Linked DNA regions of Homo sapiens: regions 1 and 3 are each linked to region 2. The links are contacts of gene promoters, found by promoter capture Hi-C in blood cells and fetal thymus (Javierre and others, 2016). All regions are on one chromosome and are shown on one strand. The core of a region is centred on a gene start or on the middle of the fragment in contact, and the rest is flanking DNA. Distances in the headings are between cores, read along the strand shown. Region 1 overlaps THRA (thyroid hormone receptor alpha). Region 2 holds the start of TOP2A (DNA topoisomerase II alpha). Region 3 overlaps THRA (thyroid hormone receptor alpha).

Region 1 (3,970 bases), core at 10-2,509, 330 kb before region 2:
AGTCTGCCCGCCTGGGCCTCCCAAAGTGCTGGGATTACAGGCATGAGCCACCGCGCCCGGCCAAGGGGTGGACCCCGCCGTGGTTCCACCGCGGCTCAAACCTAGGACCTTCTGCATGTAAAGCAGATGTGATAACTGCTACACTATAGAATCGCATGCTTTTTTTTTTTTTTTTTTTTTTTTTTGAGATGGAGTCTCATTCTGTCACCCAGGCTGGAATGCAGTGGCGCGATCTTGGCTCACTGCAACCTCTGTGTCCTGGGTTCAAGCAATTCTCTGCCTCAGCCTCCTGAGTAGCTGGGATTACAGGCGCCCACCACCACGCCCGGGTAATTTTTTTTTTTTTTATACGGAGTCTTGCTCTGTCACCCAGCCTGGAGTGCAGTGGCGCGATCTTGGCTCGTGGCAAGCTCCACCTCCTGGGTTCACGCCATTCTCCTGCCTCAGCCTCCCGAGTAGCTGGGACTACAGCGCCCACCACCATGCCCGGCTATTTTTTTTGTATTTTTAGTAGAGACAGGGTTTCACCGTGTTAGCCAGGATGGTCTCGATCTCCTGACCTTGTGATCCGCCTGCCTCAGCCTCCCAAAGTGCTGGGATTACAGGCATAAGCCACCGCGCCCGGCCTACGCCCAATTTTTATACTTTTAGTAGAGACAGGGTTTCACCATGTTGGCCAGGGTGATCTTGAACTCCTGACCTCATGATTCATCCGCCTTGGCCTCCCAAAGTTCTGGGATTATAGGCATGAGCCACTGCACCCAACCTCATGCCCGGCTAATTTTCTATTTTTAGTAGAGACAGGGTTTCTTCATGTTGGTCAGGCTGGTCTCGAACTCCCGACCTCAGTTGATCTGCCCACCTCGGCCTCCCAAAGTGTTGGGATTACATGCGTGCGCCACCGCGCCCGGCGACTTGGATTTCCAAAGCTGCTATTCCTTAAGGCCTCACATTATCCCAGGTTCAAAGCTGCCTGCTCTAGACATCATTCCTGCCTCTGCCACAAACACTACCCAGACACCCCCAACCCCTCAGCAGCCTGGGGGCTGAGGGCATATATTTCTCAGGTCCTTGAGCCTAGTAATCTTGGGCTCATGGTGTCAGGAGGATGCCAGGTCCCCTCACTGATCTTGCCTTCCTTGCTCTCCACCCCTGACCCCTAGTAAACTGCATGGTTGGTTCAGGAAGGGGAAGCCATGTCATGATCACAGCCTGCTCCATCTCCCCCACCCCAGGGCTTCTTTCGCCGCACAATCCAGAAGAACCTCCATCCCACCTATTCCTGCAAATATGACAGCTGCTGTGTCATTGACAAGATCACCCGCAATCAGTGCCAGCTGTGCCGCTTCAAGAAGTGCATCGCCGTGGGCATGGCCATGGACTGTAAGGGGCCCAGGTGGAGGGAATAGAGCCAGGTGGCCTGGGGTGGGGATGAGTTCTGGGAGGGCAGCTTCCTTCCAGGGTACCCTCAGAGCCCACAGGGCAGAGTGGCAATCCAGTCTAGGTCAGAATGTTCAGTGTCTTGGTCCTTGCTGTCCTCCTTCCTGCGCAAAAGGAAACAGGATCCCTGTGTGGGCCCCAATGCCTACCTGCCTTACAACACTCGAGGGCCTTAGAGAGGGAGTCGTTTGGTAGAAAGAGCTCCTGGGCACCCACTCTAGCACACTGTTCTTGACTCCCAGCGAAGGCACCCCACTTCTAGATGAGACAGGGCATCTTCCATTGGCTGGGGATTGGGTGGCAGGATATTCGAGTAACCACCGTCACCATAATCCGTTAGACCAGAACATGATATTCATCTGGATCAGCCCAAACTGTTGTTGACATGGTCCCGGGGATTAATCATGATCCGGGTTGTGCTGCCCAACTGCTAGGTGATTTGGGAAGTCATTTAGCCTCCATGGCCCTCGGTTTCTCCAACCTGTACTCTAGGAAGAGTAGTTTCCGGGAGCATTATGGAAAGGGGATGGAGGGTGCCATGCGTTAGACCTTGTGCCTCTCTGTTCACAGTGGTTCTAGATGACTCGAAGCGGGTGGCCAAGCGTAAGCTGATTGAGCAGAACCGGGAGCGGCGGCGGAAGGAGGAGATGATCCGATCACTGCAGCAGCGACCAGAGCCCACTCCTGAAGAGTGGGATCTGATCCACATTGCCACAGAGGCCCATCGCAGCACCAATGCCCAGGGCAGCCATTGGAAACAGAGGCGGAAATTCCTGGTAAGGAGAAAGGGGGCATGGGGAGAGCAGTAGCCAGGTGGCAGGGAGAAGAGAGTGAGCTCGGAGTCTTGCCTCCTCCAGGAAGTCTTCTTAGTGTAATCCAACCCAAAATACATACTCTTCACACTTTTGCTGTCCAGATTTTATACACTTGTGTTTGTGTCCTTGCTGTCTGGACTGTCTACTCCATCCAACTGGGAGCTCAATGAGGACAGGGCCTTGCCTTCCTCATCGAATTTCCAGGGAGCGGGAGCGACCTTTCTTCTTTTTCCTGCCCTTAGTGACTGGGAGGAGAGGGTAAGGATACAGTTATGTCACAGTATTTTTGAGCACCTGCTGGGTGCCAGGCATTATGTTAGGCCCTGGTCAAGCTAGTTGCTAAGTAAATGATGAGTTTGGGACCAGGTGCAGTGGCTCATGCCTGTAATCCCAGCAATTTGTGAGACCAAGGTGGGAGGATCGCTTGAGCCCAGGAGTTTGAGACCAGTCTGGGTAACATACAGAGATCCCACCTCTATGAATAATTTTTTTTTTTTTTGATACGGAGTCTCACTCTCACCCAGGCTAGAGTGCAGTGGCACGATCTCGGCTCACCGCAACCTCCGCCTCCTGGGTTCAAGCGATTCTCCCGCCTCCGTCTCCCGAGTAGTTGGGATTACAGGCACTGGCCACCATGCCTGGCTAATTTTTGTGTTTTTAGTAGAGACAGGGTTTCACCATGTTGACCAGGCTGGTCTCGAACTCCTGACCTCAAGTGATCCACCCGCCTCGGCCTCCCAAAGTGCTGTGATTACAAGATGTGAGCCACCATGCCCACCCTCTATGAATAATTTTTTTTTTTTTTTGAGTTGGAGTTTCGCTCTTGTTGTCCAGGCTGGAGTGCAGTGGCACAGTCTTGGCTCACCGCAACCTCTACCTCCCGGCTTCAAGCGATTCTCCTGCCTCAGCTTCCCAAATAGCTGGGATTACAGGCGTGCGCCACCACGCCCGGCTAATTTTGTATTTTTAGTAGAGACGGTGTTTCTCCATGTTGGTCAGGCTTGTCTGAACTCGCAACCTCAGGTGATCTGCCTGCCTTGGCCTCCCAAAGTGCTGGGATTACAGGTGTGAGCTACTGCTCCCGGCCTCTCTACGAATAATTTTAAAATTAGCTGGGCATGGGGGTGTGTGCCTGTGGTCCCAGCTACTCGGGAGGCTGAGGCAGGAGGATCCCCTAAGCCTGGGAGGTCGAGGCTGCAGTAAGCCATGATTACACCGCTGCACTCCAGCCCAGGCAACAGAGCAAGACCCTCTCTCAAAAAATATGATCAGTTTGGGAGGAGATGGACAGTTGGCTATACGTGGTGAAGGAAGGCAGAAAACCAGCACCTGGTTCATGGTGGAGCATGCCGGGGGGTGGCACAGTGCACACTGTTAAGGGCACGGGCTCTGATTCCAAGCAGATGTGTAACAGTCACGAGTCAGACTGCCCAAGTTCAAACCCTGGTCCTACCACTTGCTGGTCATATGACTTTAACCTTATTATTTAGCTGCCCCATGCCTCAGTTTCCACATCTGTGAAATGGTGATTATTATAATTATTCCTTTTAGGATTATGGTCAGGATGAAATAAGACATGTAAAACATGTAGCCTGATGCCTGATCATATATTAAGTATTCAGTCATTATAGCTGCTACTACTGTTACTACCGTTGTTATTATTAGCTGACTTGGAGCTCTGGTTCTGGTCTATTCTCTGCTCAAGATGAAGGAAA
Region 2 (4,055 bases), core at 48-2,547:
TATTACCATATTTAGGCCAGTTCCAGTGACACTCAGTACATGAGAGATACAGAAAGGTCACACTCAGTACATGAAAGGTACAGAAAGAAGAGTATCCATTTCAACTACTAGGTTAACTGCCTTTGATGAGCTTGATTTTACCTGGGTCACTAATTCCACAGAACCAATGTAGGTGTCTGGGCGGAGCAAAATATGTTCCAATTGTGTTTTCTTTTGATAGATTCTTTCAACAGACAGTCTTTTCTTAGCATCTTCATTTTTCTTTATTTTGTTGACTTGCATATTTTCATTTACAGGCTAGCAATTAAAAAAAAAGAGAGAAAGAAGGGAATTTTTAATCATAAGTTTACCCTAAACTAGGAACAAAATGCCTACCATAGTGAGATGTCAACATGCATTGCAATCTGTTAGTAGGCAGTGGTGGAGTTGCCAGTTTTGTACAAATAGGACAATTTAAATTCGCTGCGGCCAGGTCCCCAGGTGTCAGGTTAAACAGACACATATTATCTCACCAAGTGGGTCTGTCTGGAAACCTCTTTTCTTGAGCAACATGGTAGATGTCATCAATAAAATACACCCACTTCTTTCAGTTCCTGCATACATTATTTACCGAGTGCCTATTATTATAAATTATTTACGGTGTCCCGAGCACACGACACCGTAAATAATTCTAGTTCGGCAGCAGCAGTTTGGGCGGCTATCCGTTCAATCCCTTGGCCACCTGAGCGTTGTGAACTCAGGAAGGGGGCGCTTTTGTAAGCTGGCCAGCTGCTCCAGAGAAACACTGTGCTAGGCTCTGCCCTTTCCAAGATCGGGGACATTCAAGACCGTTTTCAAGCAGCGGGCAGGAGGGGAAAGCATCTGTACGCGCGACTCAATAACGTCGCACCCGGGCCGCTGTAACATGGATCCACTACGGGACCAACGGACTCCTGCCCCTAGAAACAGGGCAACAACGCACGACACCCTGGAAGCCGGGTCATACTTCACTACTAGCACCAGAAGGGGCTTCCGCCTCTCCACGATCACCCCGGAACCGGGAATGGAGAATATGGGCTCCCAAGCCGGTCGCCGGCCTGACCGCAGCCCCAGAGCTTCACCCGTCACGGGCGGCCAGAGAGATGCCCGGGCCGCGCGGAGGCTCCACCGCCAGTCCCCCCCGCGAGCCGTACCTGCAATGGTGACACTTCCATGGTGACGGTCGTGAAGGGGCTCAAGAACCCTGAAAGCGACTAAACAGGCAGGACCCCACGAGACCACCCCCGACCAAGCCGCTTCTCCACAGACGCGCGTCGGTTAGGAGAGCTCCACTTGAACCTTCCTTTAGCCCGCCCGAAGCAGACCAGCCAATCCCTGACTCGCTCTCACCGTCTCCGTCCAGAAGAACCAATCGTAGCTTGCCTTTTATATCCACCTATGAACGGCTGAGTTGGCCGGGGTTTGTTTGAATAAACCAATCAGGTTAGGGAGGCGGGACTAGAGAGGCTTCAAAAGGCACCACTCGGCGTCATAGCGGAGAGATTGACAGGGAATCTGGCCAATGAGAAGGGCTCACTTGTTTTCTCGTGCGGAAAGCTTGGAAGAGATGGGCTTTGGAAGCGGGAAGGGGTGGCCTGAGGCAAAAGTGTGCAGGAGAAAAGCAAAGGATGTTTATTCTCCAGGAACTGCCAATCTATTTAAGATCCCTGAAATCTAAAAACTGTCCTCTGTTCTGACGTTGTTAGCGAGGGGAATGGGAGCCTTAGCTTCGTTTTCCTGAGGAAACTGAGTGCCGGCTTTCTGGACAGGCAGCCTGGCTGCTTGGTTGAAGCGAACAGATTCTGGCATCTGCCTCAACCCCGCCCCCTTTACCCTCGAATTCATTTTTCAAAGAAATAAAAGTAGGCTGTGTGCGGTGGCTGGAGTCTGTATTCGCAGCACATTGGGAGGCCGAGGCGGGAGGATCGCTGGAGCCTAGGAGTTGGAGACCAGCCTGGGCAACATAGCGAGACCCCGTCTCTACCCAAAAAGGAAAAAAAATAGCCAGGCGAGGCATCGCACACCTGTAACTCCAGCTCCGGAGGCTGAGGAGGGAGGATCGCTTGAGCCCCGGGGATCGGAGATCGAGGCGCCTTGAACCGTGATTGCTCCACTGCACTCCAGCCTGAGTGACAGAGCGAGGCCACCTCAAGAGATAAATACATAAATAAATAAATAATAAAAATAATTAAAATAAAAGTGCCACAGTTGTGGTTTGGGGGTTCCATATAGTGGAAGGATGTAGAAAGGCTTTGCAAAATGGAGGGCAGCATTCAGGTCCCCAGTAGAGCAGCGCTGGACTGCAACTGGTAAATCGAAAGGGATAACTTGTGGTGGTAGCCTCTTGAGCTGAGGGTGGGCTCAGCCGTCCGGGGCTGAAACCTTTTCCGCAGCCAGCTGGCCAGATACCCTCCGACTGGCTACTTTTGCTCACCTCCGTGAACCCTGCAGTCCAGAACAGCTGTTCCAATTTGACAAGGAAATGCCAAGACTGAAGCTTTTTTGTTTGCTTGTTTTTTTGTTGCTTTTTTTTTTTTTGAGATGGAATCTCACTCTGTCGCCCAGGCTGGAGTGCAATGGCGCGATCTAGGCTCACTGCAACCTTCACCTCGCGGGTTCAAGCGATTCTCCTGCCTCAGCCTCCCGTGTAGCTAGAATTACAGGCGCCTGCCACCACGCCTGGCTAATTTTTGTATTTTTTTAGTAGAGACAGGGTTTTGCCATGTTGACCAGGTTGGTTTCAAACTTCTGACCTCAAGTGATCTGCCCGCCTCAGCCTCTCAAAGTGCTGGGATTACAGGTGTGAGTCACTGTGCCCGGCGAAGACTGAAGTTTTAAAATTACTCTTACATATAAATGTTTGAGTGGATTAAACAAAGTTATTACCCTTACAAGAAGCCAGAAAAAAAAAAACTGCACAATTTGAGTGCCTACTAATTCCAGCTGAGCCACCTCTTTCCATTCATTGCTTCCTTCCTCTACCTGGGTTTCAGTCCCAACTCAGCAATTTGCCATTCGTGTCATTTCGATGGAGGAAGCCTCTCGGTGCTTCCGTTTCCTCTCCTAAAAAGAATAATTAACTATGATCTCAGAGTAGTGTGAGGGTTACATGAGAGAAGTGTAAGGTAAACAGTGGGCTGACAGTATTAGGTAGCAGGAATTTTCCTTAGGCTGGTGTGACAATTGTGGATGTAATTTTTTTTTTCTTCTTCTAAAAGAAACCAGAGGTCAACCATTGTTACATAACCACAGTGTGTCAAGGGAGGGCCAATGGGGAGCCGTATGATGTGGCAGGAAGCCAAGGATGGAAGTTGCCCATGGGCTAGGGGCACTCGGAAACCATAGGCATGGTGCTTCGGCATTGTTCTGCTCTCTTGACCTTTGGCTCCCTGGCCTCCAGCAGTCTCTGCGTGTTCCCAGCTCTGCTCTGCTCACCACATGTGTTAGAGAGCACAGGACCACCAGGGGCTCAGAGCAGTGGTAGGGAAGCTTGGCCAGTAGCCTCTGCTCAGCCAGAAGACTGACCAGGCCCTGGGATCCAGGGCCTGCATGCCACTCTCTGCAGGACACCCGAGGGCCCTGACAGAAACCAGCCATGCTGGCTTCTACCTCCTAGAACGCACTACCTCCAAGGTAGTGGGGATGGTGGGCATGCTTCCCCAAGGATGGCAGCTCAGTTTCTGCAGCTCCCGGCCTCTACCCTGTAGCTCATCCCAGCCTGCAGTGACCCACTGGGCAATGAGGCAACAGGAATTTAACAAGCAGCTCCAGCCCTATTTTTTAGGGGCCCAGCTTTAAATCTGTCCTGCAGTTTAGCTGGATCCTGTGTGTCTTTGTTCCAAAAACCCAGAAGAAGTACTGTGGAGTCAAAAGGACTTTGGGGACCGGGTGTGGTGGCTCACGCCTGTAATCCCAGCACTTTGGGAGGCTGAGGTGGGTGGATCACCTGAGTTCAGGGGTTTGAGACCAGCCTGGACAACTTGGTGAAACCCCATCTCTACAAAAATACAAAAAAAAAAATTAGCCATGCCTGATGG
Region 3 (3,847 bases), core at 274-2,773, 350 kb before region 2:
TGAGATACCACCCTACTAGACAGTGAGCTCTTGGAGACCTGGGAGAATCACTTAAAGAGCTCTGGATCCCACGCAGAGCCTAGCACAAGGGCTGCTCTGTAAATACTTGTTAGTTGATTGACTGTGGAACCTGCAGACACAGGTGCACTCATTTGCACATGGTCCCCTGAACTCAGGTGCAGAATGAGTTCACAAGGCCCAGGTCCCCACAGTTGCAGGTCCACACCAACAGTCGTGTCCACACAACCCCAGATACACACAACTGCAGCCTGTGCAGCCGAGCACACACTTAGATGCACACAATCACAAATTTTTCCCCTTCAGCTTCCTCCTCCCCTTTTTCCTCTAGGCTCAGCCACTGTGCGGGAATGGGCTGTTTTTTTTTTCTTTCTTTCTTTTAGAGGGACAGAGAAACAAGAGCAAAGACAGTGGGTTCAGGGGGGTTCCAGAGGGCCGAGTCATGGGCTCAAAGCAGTGTCCAGTGACTTCTAGAAGCTAGGATTCTCTTGACTGTTGGGGAAGGGGAGAGCTGCTCTCCTCCCTACCCTAAAAGCTCAGGGGTGTCTAACTGCCCCTGCTCTGAGTCATTTGCCTGGGTCTTTCCTGGGAACAGTCAGTCACTTCCAGCTGAGTTCCTGCGCCCCACCTTGAGTCTGGCCCTTTTTCCCACCTGTACCCTCCTGTCCAAACTTGGAAGCTTTCCTTAAGAGGCCATCGGCTGGCGAGTGTCTGTGTGAGTGATATGTACTTTTGACTTGGAATTTCTCTCTAACTCTGTCTCTCTGTTGCTCTGTCTTGCAGTGTCTGATTCTCCCTCTCTCTCTCCTTGTTTCTCTGCCAGTCTGTAACTCTCTCTCACCCTGTTGCTACCCCCGATCTACCCCTGTCCTTGTCTCAGAGCTGGGGACTGGCAGCAATGTTCTTCATACTTTTCCAGTTGTTAATACCCAAGCTCCGCCCCTCTGCCCCCCCTGCGCAGCCTCTGGGGTCAGCTTGAGGTTGGGGTGGGGGGCGGGGGGCTCAGCTGGCTGCTCAGGACTTCCTGCACTTCCTTAGTGCCGCAGCTGTGGCCAGCAAGTTTTAGGGGCTGGGAATGGGGGAAGGGGGGGGGGGTCAGCCACTGCCCATGCTGACCCCTCGGGCCTGCATGTCTGGAGACACCAGTTCTGTGGGCACCCTCAGGGTGCAGGCTGCAGCCAGCTAGCAGCTCTTAAACAAGCCATGAAGAGGCTCCCCCCACACTGGCCCAAGCTGGAAAAGAACCGCCCCCATGGGCAGTGGCGGGAGCTGGCAGGACCCTGCTGAGTTGGGTCCACTGCAGGGCTCACAATGGCCTTTCTCCACACCCCTGGCAGCTGAGGCCCACCTCAGAGATGCCCAACAGCTGTGTCCTTTTTGCCCAGCCTCAGGGCCTGGTTCTGAGGGCACAGCTGCCTAGACTAAGTATGTACTAAGCGAGGCCCTCCCACCCGTGAGTGCAGGTTCCAGCCTAGAAGGGGTACCTCTTCTGGAGAGGGAATTTGAGGAGGGGGAACTCAGGCAGGAGACATCGAGCCCGGGGGCACCAAGCACTTCTCGCTATGCTCCCCTCTAGCCTTGGACTATTTGGAGGTGGAGGCACTTGGCAGAGAACCCACAGGGCAGCTACAGAGGGGAAAGACTGAGGCTTGGTCTCAGGGAACACATAGCTGGATGAAAGAACAAGGCATTGGGCCGGGCACAGTGGCTCACACCCGTAATCCTAGCACACTGGGAGGCGGAGGCAGGCAGATCACCTGAGGTCAGGAGTTCAAGACCAGTCTGACCAAGATGGTGAAACCCCATCTCTACTAAAAATACAAAACTTAGCTGGGTGTGGTGGCGGGGTCCTGTAATCCCAGCTACTCAGGAGGCTGAGGCAGGAGAATCGCTTGAACCCAGGAGGTGGAGGTTGCAGTGAGCTGAGATTGTACCACTGCACTACAGACTGGGTGACAGAGCGAGACTCCGTCTCAAAAAAAAAAAAAAAAAAAAAGAAAAACAAAAAAGAACAAGGCATTATCTATCAAGCAGGTGATATACCATCACAGCTAAGAACAGAGATGATGGTGATGATCATGACGGCCATGATTGACCTGGACTGCCTAGGTCTGAATCCCAGCTCTGTCACTTGCTGGATGTGTGACTTTGAGCAAGCGATTTAACTTCCCCGTTGCCTCATCTGTAAATTGGGGATGATCATATCTACCTCATTTAGCTTTTTTGAGGAAAAATGTTTTTAAAAGTGCCTAGTTCATAACAAACTGTATATGTGAGCGGTTGTGATGGGTGAAGGAAGCTGTGGGCCTGGGGTCTCCCAGATTTCTTAGAGAAGCTTCGTGGAGAATTGGGTCTCCTAGACATCAGTGAGACTGGGGCCTGGGGCAGTGGGTCTCCAATTTCCAGCCTTCTCACCGTCATGTAATCTTTTCCTCCCAGACAAATTTTTGCAGCCTGGAATGAGTGTATGGGAAAGAGCCCAAGGCAGGCCCCTCTGCCCCACCCTCCTTTGACCCTCGCCCTTCAGCTTACAAGGAGCCCTTGGCCCCTCAGCCTGGGACACACCCCACCAGCTAGGGGCACCTGCATAAATCTTTGGGCATCACTGCATCTCTGTTCAGGGTCTGAGCTCTGGGGGTGGGAGAGAGAGAACAAGGAAAGCCGTCCCCTCTCTTATGTGTGGGCTCAAAGAGGAGGCAGTGCCCTTCCTCCCTCCTGGGAGCCCAGCATTGGTCAACCAGGACCCAGCTCTGGCTGATAGGCACCAGATTCCCCTGCCCTCCATGGAGTGGTACTTAGTGTGAAAGGTGGTGGCAGAGAGAAACTGAAGCACTGAGTAATGACCAGTGTGGTGGGCACAGCACTTTGAGATCCAGCATCTGTCCTGGGTTGCCTCTTTGCCTTTGTGAGTCTGGTGATCAGGATCCCCTCTCCAAACCCCTTTTATTTAGCCCTGCCCCTCAAGGTGAAGGAAGGACAATGGGAGGATACCCTGTAGGGGTGACGGGAAGCCTTTGGAGTGGGAACCAATCTCAACTCTAGTTCTCGGCTGGGCACAGTGGCTCATGCCTGTAATCTCAATATTTTGGGAGGCCAAGGCGGGAGGATCACTTGAGGCCAGTAGTTCATGATCAGCCTGGTCAACATAGTGAGACCCCATCTCTAAAAACAACTTTAAAAAGTTAGCCAGGTGTGGTGGCGCATGCCTGTGTTACCAGCTACTTGGGAGGCTGAGGCCGGAGGATCGCTTAAGCCTGGAAGGTCGAGGCTGCGGTGAGCTGTGATTGTGCCACTGCACTCTAGCCTGAACAACAGAGTGAGACCCCCCACACACACATCCTCTCAAAACAGACAGAAAACAAAACAAAAAACCCAACTCTAGTTCTCATGGCTGCAAAGGTGTCTAGGGGACTTTGGAGAACTGTTGTGTCTCTTGGGGAGGGAGGCAAGCATGACCGTGGTGGGAAGATCACTGGCTGGGAGTTGGGAGGCCTGGCTGTTGACATTCACTAGTCGTATGACTTTGGGCCTGGGTTTTCATTATCTAGAGACAATGGTTCCTGTCTCACTCAGGTTGAGGGCAAATAACACAAGGTGGGATGACCCCTGTGTTCAATCCATGTTGCATCCTGGCATGGTGAGCAATGCCTGTGGATTCTCCTTTTTTCCCAGGGCCTGGCACATGCCAGGGTGGGGCATACACATGCTGCCTGGAACCAGAGACAGTTCTCAGTCTCTCACTGAAGTATCTGGGGCTGGTGTGTGGTGGGGGCACATGTGGTTCCACCTTGGTGTCACTTGGCAGGCCAAAGCTGGGGTCATAGGGACC

Evidence for each region. Contacts are between HindIII fragments. The CHiCAGO score rates a contact against its expected background, and 5 or more counts as called.
Region 1: a contact is called between a fragment that was not itself captured here and the fragment with the promoter of TOP2A in region 2, in 1 of 17 cell types (neutrophils). The highest score is 5.4, in neutrophils.
Region 3: a fragment that was not itself captured here is called in contact with the fragment with the promoter of TOP2A in region 2 in 1 of 17 cell types (neutrophils); the score reaches 5.3 in neutrophils.

The regions. Positions count from the first base shown.
Region 1 is chr17:40,082,600-40,086,569 of GRCh38, forward strand. It overlaps THRA (thyroid hormone receptor alpha), which reads left to right. Exons shown (of 9, transcript NM_199334.5): 5 at 1,236-1,383; 6 at 2,011-2,216. Among named protein-coding and RNA genes, the nearest start is that of NR1D1, 16 kb to the right of the region's middle. The HindIII fragment of the contact is 5,422 bases long and covers 1-3,970 here.
Region 2 is chr17:40,416,599-40,420,653 of GRCh38, forward strand. TOP2A (DNA topoisomerase II alpha) reads right to left here and starts at 1,298. Exons shown (of 35, transcript NM_001067.4): 1 at 1,173-1,298; 2 at 142-297. The coding sequence starts at 1,193. RefSeq lists enhancers at 957-1,482, 1,204-1,293, 2,962-3,504. The HindIII fragment of the contact is 7,280 bases long and covers 1-1,573 here.
Region 3 is chr17:40,064,671-40,068,517 of GRCh38, forward strand. All of the region lies in intron 1 of THRA (thyroid hormone receptor alpha), which reads left to right. Among named protein-coding and RNA genes, the nearest start is that of THRA, 3.6 kb to the left of the region's middle. The HindIII fragment of the contact is 1,656 bases long and covers 696-2,351 here.